Linked DNA regions of Homo sapiens: region 2 is linked to region 1. The links are contacts of gene promoters, found by promoter capture Hi-C in human tissues and cell types (Jung and others, 2019). All regions are on one chromosome and are shown on one strand. The core of a region is centred on a gene start or on the middle of the fragment in contact, and the rest is flanking DNA. Distances in the headings are between cores, read along the strand shown. Region 1 holds the start of ZNF620 (zinc finger protein 620). Region 2 overlaps EIF1B-AS1 (EIF1B antisense RNA 1).

What was found. Contacts are between HindIII fragments. The study calls those that stand out against the background at their distance.
Region 2: a contact is called between a fragment that was not itself captured here and the fragment with the promoter of ZNF620 in region 1, in 1 of the 25 tissues and cell types used here (aorta).

What each region holds. Positions count from the first base shown.
Region 1 is chr3:40,503,939-40,507,981 of GRCh38, reverse strand. ZNF620 (zinc finger protein 620) reads right to left here and starts at 1,943. Exons shown (of 5, transcript NM_175888.4): 1 at 1,844-1,943; 2 at 1,606-1,678. The coding sequence starts at 1,629. The HindIII fragment of the contact is 12,099 bases long and covers 1-4,043 here.
Region 2 is chr3:40,298,271-40,302,313 of GRCh38, reverse strand. It overlaps EIF1B-AS1 (EIF1B antisense RNA 1), which reads left to right. Exons shown (of 3, transcript NR_033965.1): 2 at 918-1,077. Among named protein-coding and RNA genes, the nearest start is that of EIF1B-AS1, 9.4 kb to the left of the region's middle. RefSeq lists an enhancer at 390-1,589. The HindIII fragment of the contact is 3,202 bases long and covers 215-3,416 here.

The DNA.
Region 1 (4,043 bases), core at 694-3,193:
TTAGATAAAATGGATAAGTTCCTTGAAAGGCACAAGTTACCAAAACTCATTTAAGCTGGGCGTAGTGATGCATGCCTGTAGTCCCAGGTACCTGGGAGGCTGAGCGGGGAGGATTGCTTGAGCCCAATTTGAGGTCAGCCTGGGCAACATAGAGAAAACCGTTGTCAAAAAATAAAAATAAATAAATAAAAAGAGATAACCAGAGTAGCCCCTGTATCTACCAAAGGACTCAAAACTGTACTTAAAAACCTTATCAGAAAGAAAACCCCATGCCTAGATAGCTTCACTGTTGAATTCTACCAAACATTTAAGGAAGAAATGCAGTCAACTCTACATAAATTCTTCCAAAATATTAAAGAGGAGGGAATATTTCTCATTCTATGGAACAAAGACATCACAAGAAAAGAAAACTGCAAATCAATACCTCATAAACATAGATACAGAAATTCTAAATAAAATTTTAACAAATTAAATTCAATATATAGTACTAATAAAATAATAATACACCATGACGAAGTCGGTTTTATCCCACCGCAGAGTTGGTTTAATATTTGAAAGAAAAATCATGTAATTCACCACATTAACAAAGAGAGGCTGGGCACGGTGGCTCACGCCTGTAATCCCAGCACTTTGGGAAGCCAAGGTGGGGGAATCACGAGGTCAAGGGATCGAGACCATCCTGGCCAACATGGTGAAACCTGGTCTCTACTAAAAATACAAAAATTAGCTGGGTGTGGTGGCGCGTGCTTGTAGTCCCAGCTACTCGGGAGGCTGAGGCAGGAGAATCGCTTGAACCCCAGAGGTGGAGGGTGCAGTGAACCAGGATCGCGCCACTGCACTCCAGCCTGTCGATAGAGCAAGACTCCATCTCAAAAAAAAAAAAAAAAAAAAACCATATGGTCATCTAAATAGACACAGAAAAAGCAATTGTCAAAATCCAACATCCATTCCTATAAAAACTCTCACCAAAGTAGTACTAGAAGAGAATGCCTGATAAAGGACATTTACAAAACAAAACAAAACAAAAAAGCAAGAAACCTACAGTGAACATCAGTCTTCAGTGTGAAAGATTGAATGCTTTCACTTTAAAAGCATAAATAAGACAAAGATATCTGCTCTCACCACTTCTGTTCAATATTGAAATAATGCTTCTAGCCAGTGCAGTAAGGCAAGACAAAATAAAATAAAAGGCATCCAGACTGGAAAGAAAGGAGTAAAACTATCTTTACTCATAGATGACCTATGTAGAAAATACAATGGAATCTACAAAACAGTTACTAGAATTGCTATACTGAAGAAGTAAGTACTTCTCCAAGCCTGCGGACTAGGGTGAAAGGGGTCTTTATTGGATGTAATAATGCAGATTTCCACATTTCATAATTTTTATTTTTAAGCTGGCTTCAAATGCCAAATCCCAACCAATCCCCCCACACTCACTAGTTTTCTAGTCTTAATTTGGGCATTCTCACCTCTCCATCCCTCTCATAGTGACAGATGCACAATGGAAGCCACTGGCCTACACAACTCAAGATCTGAATGCAGAGGTGACACCTGCTCTCTCTTGACATCTAAAGGGTGGGAGGGAGGGAGAGGATGCTCACTCACCTGGCGCCAAGCGGTCTGGAACATGGCTGGCGTCCCAGCTTCACACACTGCCTCAGGGTTCGGAGAAGTGAAACTGAAGAGAAAATAAAGAAGCACCGGTGAGATTGATGCTGCCTCGCACCCCGCAAATGCCCTCTGTGCTACTTGGGCCCCTCTCCTTTCCGCCAACTCCTCACCCCAAAAAGCAAAGGGGTTGCAAAACCAGGCAGAACAAGCCCCAGGAAAACCAATCAGTTACCCGGACCGCGAACCTCTTCAGCTCGGACCGCGAATCCCGCGCGGCGCAGGCGCAGATAAAGCGTGGAAATTCCACCTGCCGCCGACACCGGGGAAAGCTTGAGACCCTCCGCCGGAAGTGCGTTTTCCATGCCCCTCCTCTCTAGGAACCTGGGAAGTTGCCAGTCTCTGTGGTTTCCTACCCCCGCCGTCAGCGCCAGTGTCCCTACTGCCTGAGACAACACGGGCCCGAGCGGGCGGCCCCAGGCAGGGGTCCTGCAGCGCCCACACCTGGTAGCTCCTTCGGGGCATGACGTCTGGCCAGCTCAGGCCACAGAATGGTTACTATCCTGGGTATTATTCGTGGTTATCTGGCATTTGCCACTCTGGGTGTCCTTCCAGATAATGAAGGGACCATCGCGCCCTTCACATGCGCCAAAACTGTCTGGATTGTGTGGGTGCGCTGCAGTGGGAAAAGTGGGTGTGGGGAAAGGCGAACCCATTACTCAGAAGGCCGAATGTGTATGGACTACGTAGGTCCAGAAACCCAGCTGCACCACTTGCTAGTTGTGTGACCTGCAGCAAGTTTCTTTGCCCCGGTTTCCTTGTCTATTAAATGGGTATTATGATGGTGGTACCAACCTCTTGAGGCTGTTCAGGGTTAATTCATTAAATTAGTTAATTGATAGGTAAATTATTTACAGTTGTGCCTGGCACATAGTATGTACTCGTGAGTTTGTATTGTTTTGTTTTCCAATTGTGTTTTTTGAAGACACAAAATAGGTGCTGCTGGGACTCCAATATGTGGCGTGCTTTAGGGAAATAGATTTTTTTAAGGACAATTTTCGAAGTTTAGCGAAAGAGCTATTAACATTTGGCTTAGAGCCCTTTCCTGCCCTGTACTGGGATGTGTGTCCCGGCCCAGCCTGGAAACAGATTTTAGTTATTCCTTCCACAGGAATTAGATTTATCCACCACTTTCAAAACAAGTCCTGCCATGGAGAGTATATTATGTATCTACTGCTGGATAATAAACTACTCTAATGCTTTGTGGCTAAAAACAATAAACATTGTTATCTTTTGACAGTTTCTGTGGACCCAGAATTCAAGAGCAGCTTGGCTGGGTGGTACTGGCTGAGGGTCTCTGCTGAGGTTGCAGTCAGGTGTCATGTGGGGCTGAAGTCATCTGAAGCTTGACTGAGTTTGGAGGATCCACCTCCAAGGTGGTTTACTCACATGGCTGTCAAGTGGGTGCTGGTTGTTGGCAGGAAGCGTCAGTTCCTTCCCATGTGAGGGTTTTCACAACATGGCATGTAGCTTTCTCCCAAAGTGAGCAATCCAAGAGGCCAAGGCCAAAGCTTTTATGACCTAGTTTTGGAAATCATGCATCATGATTTCCTCAATACATTCTCCTCAGATTAGTCATGATTCAGTGTGGGAAGAGATACACAAGGTTTGAATGCCAGGATATGAGAACCATTGGGAGCCATTGTGGGGCCACCTAGCACAGAGATTTTAACTGTCACAGAAACAGTTCATTTTATAAAATCTATAGTATTTTCACTTTAAAGTTTATGCACAGCACTTGTTTTAAATAATTAGATTTCCAGAAACAATGGCATGACAAGGACATACATGTGCATACTGTCCCTTCGCTAAACCTATTAAAATGAACATTTACCATGAGTGGGTGCACATAAACGTACATACATATACACCACAAATTCTAAACAGTATTAGCCAGTGGAAAAAAACATGATAAATTGGACTTAATCAAAGTTAAATCTTCTGCTTTTCAGAAGATACTTTTAGAGAATGAAAAGACAAGCCACAGACTGGGAGAAAATACCAAAAATATTTGATAAAAGACTTGTTTCCAAAATATATAAAGGACTCTCAAAACTCACTCATAAGAAAATAAACCAATTTTTAAAAATAGGCAAAAGATTTGAACAGATACTTCACCAAAGAAGATATATGGAAAGCAATTAAATATTTGAAAAGATGCTCAACATTGTTAGTCATTAGAGAAATGCAAATTAAAACCGCAGTGAAACAGTATTACACACTTACTAGAAAAGCTAAAAGTAGAGACAACATCAAGTGTAGGCAAAGATGTATCAGAAGTGGAACCCATACAATACTGATGGAAATGTACAATGGCACAGTCTCTTTGGAAAAACTTTGCAGATTCTTTAAAAATTAAATATACACCTACCTTA
Region 2 (4,043 bases), core at 566-3,065, 210 kb after region 1:
TGTTTAAAATGGTTAATTATCTTTTTAAGAGGTTTAATAGGAAAAAATTTACCCAAAAAGTTACCATTTCTAGTGCTTTTCATTTTTTGTGTAGATCCATATTTTTTATCTGGTGTTATTTTCTTTCTGCTGGCAGAACTTCCTTTGTTATTTTTTGTAGTGTGGGTCTGAAGGTGATGAATTCTTAAAGTTTTTGCATGTCTGAAATATTTTTATTTAACCTTCATTTTTGAAAGACTGGTTTTGTTGGGTATAGGATTCTATGTTGACAATTGTTGTTGTTGTTTTCTAATAGAGACGGGGCTTGCTAGGTTGGTTGCCCAGGCTGCTCTCAAACTCCAGGCTCAAGTGATCCTTCCCTGTTGGACTCCCAAAGTGTTAGGATTACAGGCTTGCACTATTCATGCCTGGCCTATTTTTTTTTTCCTCTCAGAACTTTAAAGTTGTGGCTCCACTGTCTTCTTATTTACATTGTCTGTAAACAATGAGAAATCTGCTGTCATTGTATCTTTGGTCCCTTGTATGTAAAATTTTTTTTTTCTCTGACTGCTTTTAAGATTTTTGCCTTTATCACTAGTTTTGAACAATTTGAGCAATTTGATTATTATGTGCCTTGGTGTAGAGATTTTATGTTTCCTGTGTTTAAGGGTCATTAAGCTTCTAGGATCTCAGTTATAATTTTCATCAAATTTTAAAAATTTTTCTCCATTATTCCTTAGAATTTTTCTGTCCCACTCTTCTCTCCTCTACTTTGGAAACTCCAGTTGCACATATTTAAGGCTAATTAAAGTTGTTCATAGTTCACTGATACTCTTATTTTTTTTCTTTTTTCTCTCTCTATATGATGGCTTTATAATATAAAAACTTGGCTAGGCTGAACTACATTTCACAGACTTTCCTTTCTTGTGTATTTACAGATTGGGTGGATCACAAGAACTAATCTTTCATGATTTGGAAACCGGAAGGAAAGAAGCACTTTTGTAGCTGACTTACCTCAATGACATGACCAGTGTCTGAGCCTACAACTGCGCTATCTTCCCTGGATTTTTCTTCACCTTTTCCTTACTCATGAGCCAGGTATGTGTTTTTAGTTCCATAAAAAAGAGCCCTGGCCAGGCGTGGTGGCTCACACCTGTAATCTCAGCACTTTGGGAGGCTGTGGCAGGCAGACCACTTGAGCTCAGGAGTTTGATACCAGGATGGGCAACATGGTGAAACCCCGATCTATAAAAAATACAAAAAATTATCCAGGCATGGTGGCATGAGCCACTATTCCCAGCTACTCAGGAGGCTGAGGTGGGAGGATGTCTTGAGTCTGGGAGGTGGAGGTTGCACTGAGCCGAGATAAGTGCCACTGTGCTCTAGCCTGGTTGACAGAACCAGAGCCTGTCTCAAAAAAACAAAAAAAAGAAAAAAGAAAAAAAAAATTACCATTCCACTAAGGTCAGAGGCAACAAAAAAAGACATGGATTTCAGTCTATCCTCATGGAGTACTAGCTCACGATTACAGGGTTTCAGCTTGCTTGTGATAGTCTTTTCCTGACATTCCCTTACTGACTGCTTTCCCTATGGACTCTATATCAGATGCAGAGACACAGCCTTACAGAAGCTGCTTAACCAACTCTAATAACCACATAAGCCAATTCCCTGTAACAAGTTTCTTTATATATGTATGTATGTGTTCGACTAGAGAAGCAGGACCAGTGTGAGGTATACAGAGGTACTATTCCCAGACTGTGTGCATATTGCATACTGATTCCCCTTCGTCTTTTAGGTGTTTATTTCCTAGGCTTCACAGTTTCCTTACAATTCCTTACATTAGTATTCTGCTGAATACATGGGGAGGACTAAAGAACTTTCCAGCGTTCCCTCTCTGTGAAGCCCTCTCCTCTCTAATATTCTGCTTGCAAACTCTAGCTGCCCTAATATTTTTGCACTCCACTTTTTCTACTTATGGAGTCTGCTGGGGGTCTGCCTGTGTTCCCTCTCTGCTGTGACTAGAACGTGTTCCCTAAAGTTTGTGTGTTAGAAGCTTAATCTCCAATGTAACAATATTGAGAGTTGGGACTTTCAAGGGATGATTAGGTCATGAGGATGATTAGGTCATGATTAGGGCATTAGCTCTGCCCTCATGAAAGAATTAATGTTGTTGTTATGGGAGTGGGTTAGTTATTGCAGGAGCAAGTTCCTGATAAAAGGATGAGTTTTGCTCCCTTCCCCTGTGTGCTCTCTTGCTCTTCTGCTTTCTGCCATGGAATGACTCAGCAAGAAGGCCCTCACCAGATGCACTCTTCTTGACCTTGGACTTCCCAGTTTCCGGAACTGTGAGAAATGAATTTCTTTTCTTTAGAAATTGCTTAATCTGTGGTATTCAGTTATAGCAACATAATATGGACTAAGACAGAAAATTGGTACTGAGAAGTAGGGCTGTTGCTATGAGAAATACCCACAAATGTGGAAGTGGCTTAGGAACTGGATAATGGATAGAGGCTGGAAGAATTTGGTGTAGCAAGGTAGAAAAAGCTTGGATTGCTGTGAATGGTGCATTAAGGGCAATCCTGGTGAGGGCTCAAAAACAGAGAAGACGAGAGAAAGTCTGGAACTTATTAGAGATTATTTAGGTGGTTGTGACCAGCATAATGAAAGAAATATGGACAGTAAAGGCCATTCTGATGAGGTTTCAGATGGAACTGAAGAACAAGGTATTGGAAACTAGAGCAAAGGCCACCCTTGTTATAAAGTAGCAAATAACTGGGCTGAACAGTGTCCGTGCCCAGAGGCTTTATGAAGGGTGAAAGTTAAGAGTGATGGACTAGGATATCTGGTGAAAGAAATATCTAAACAGCAAGTCCTCCATGCTGTGCATGGCTACTTTTAACTTCTTACAGTAAAATAAGACAGGAAAGAGACGATTTAAAGACAGAATTTATCGTTAAAAAGTCCGTATGCATTCTGTCCTGCCCTTCTGCCTTCTACTGTGGGATGATGCAGCAAAAAAGTCTTCACCATATGCAAGCCCTTCACTGTGGACTTGCCAGCATCCAGAACTGTGAGAAATGAGTTCCTTTATAAAATAAATTACCCAGTTTGTGGTATTCTGTTATAGTAACACAAAACAGACTAAGACACCTTTTCTGTGCTCCGGCCTGGGACACTCTTTCAAGGCAGAAAGATGGGCCAATTGCAGGGCTCACCTTATTTGTTTCCCATCCCTCAGGAATCACTGTCCTTTGTTTGATGTGGAGTGTTTTGAAAAACTGTTGTTTCTTATATTTTGTCCTGTGATTTGGTTGTTTTAGGTGGAAGAGTAAATTCAGTCCTTGTTACTTCATCTAAGTTGAAAGCAAAGTTTCAATACATGTATTTTGAATGTAAGAATAAATTTCTCTTTGGCATCTATCATGAAATTAAACCTTGAATTATGAATATATCTGATACTTAGGAAAAAAATTAACTTTTTTAGAGTGATGACCCTTTATCCACCAGTGGTGTGTGTGTGTGTGTGTGTCCATGTGCACACACACATGCACAAATTTTTTATCTACCGGTGGTGTAAATTTGTTATTGTACTAAAAACCTTCACTTCAGAACACTTTTAGAAATGTGTATTAGTGTTGTTTTATAGCAAGGAATCTTTGGATTGTTTTATGGCTAGGAAATGAACCAACCTGTAAATTGTGTAATTGTGTTTTTGTTAAATTAGTTTGCCCATCTACTCACTTTTATAATTGAAACCTGGCAAATTTTCTTAGTGTTTCCAAGTACTATATAGGAAGTTAAAATACTATGAATACTAGGTAAATATGAGTTGACCCACTTTATAGCTAAAAAGAGAAAACATTCTGAACTGAGATACACAGTGAGTAAGCAAAGGGAGTTGCTACTAATATTTTGTATTCTCCACTGTGGGCCAGGAAAACTGCCAAGCATTTTATATTATTTATTTACTCTTCATACTCTTCATAACAACTTTGTAAGTGGAGTTTATTGTCCCATTTTACAGATGAGAAAAATGAGACCCCCAAGAAGTTTATTACTTGCTT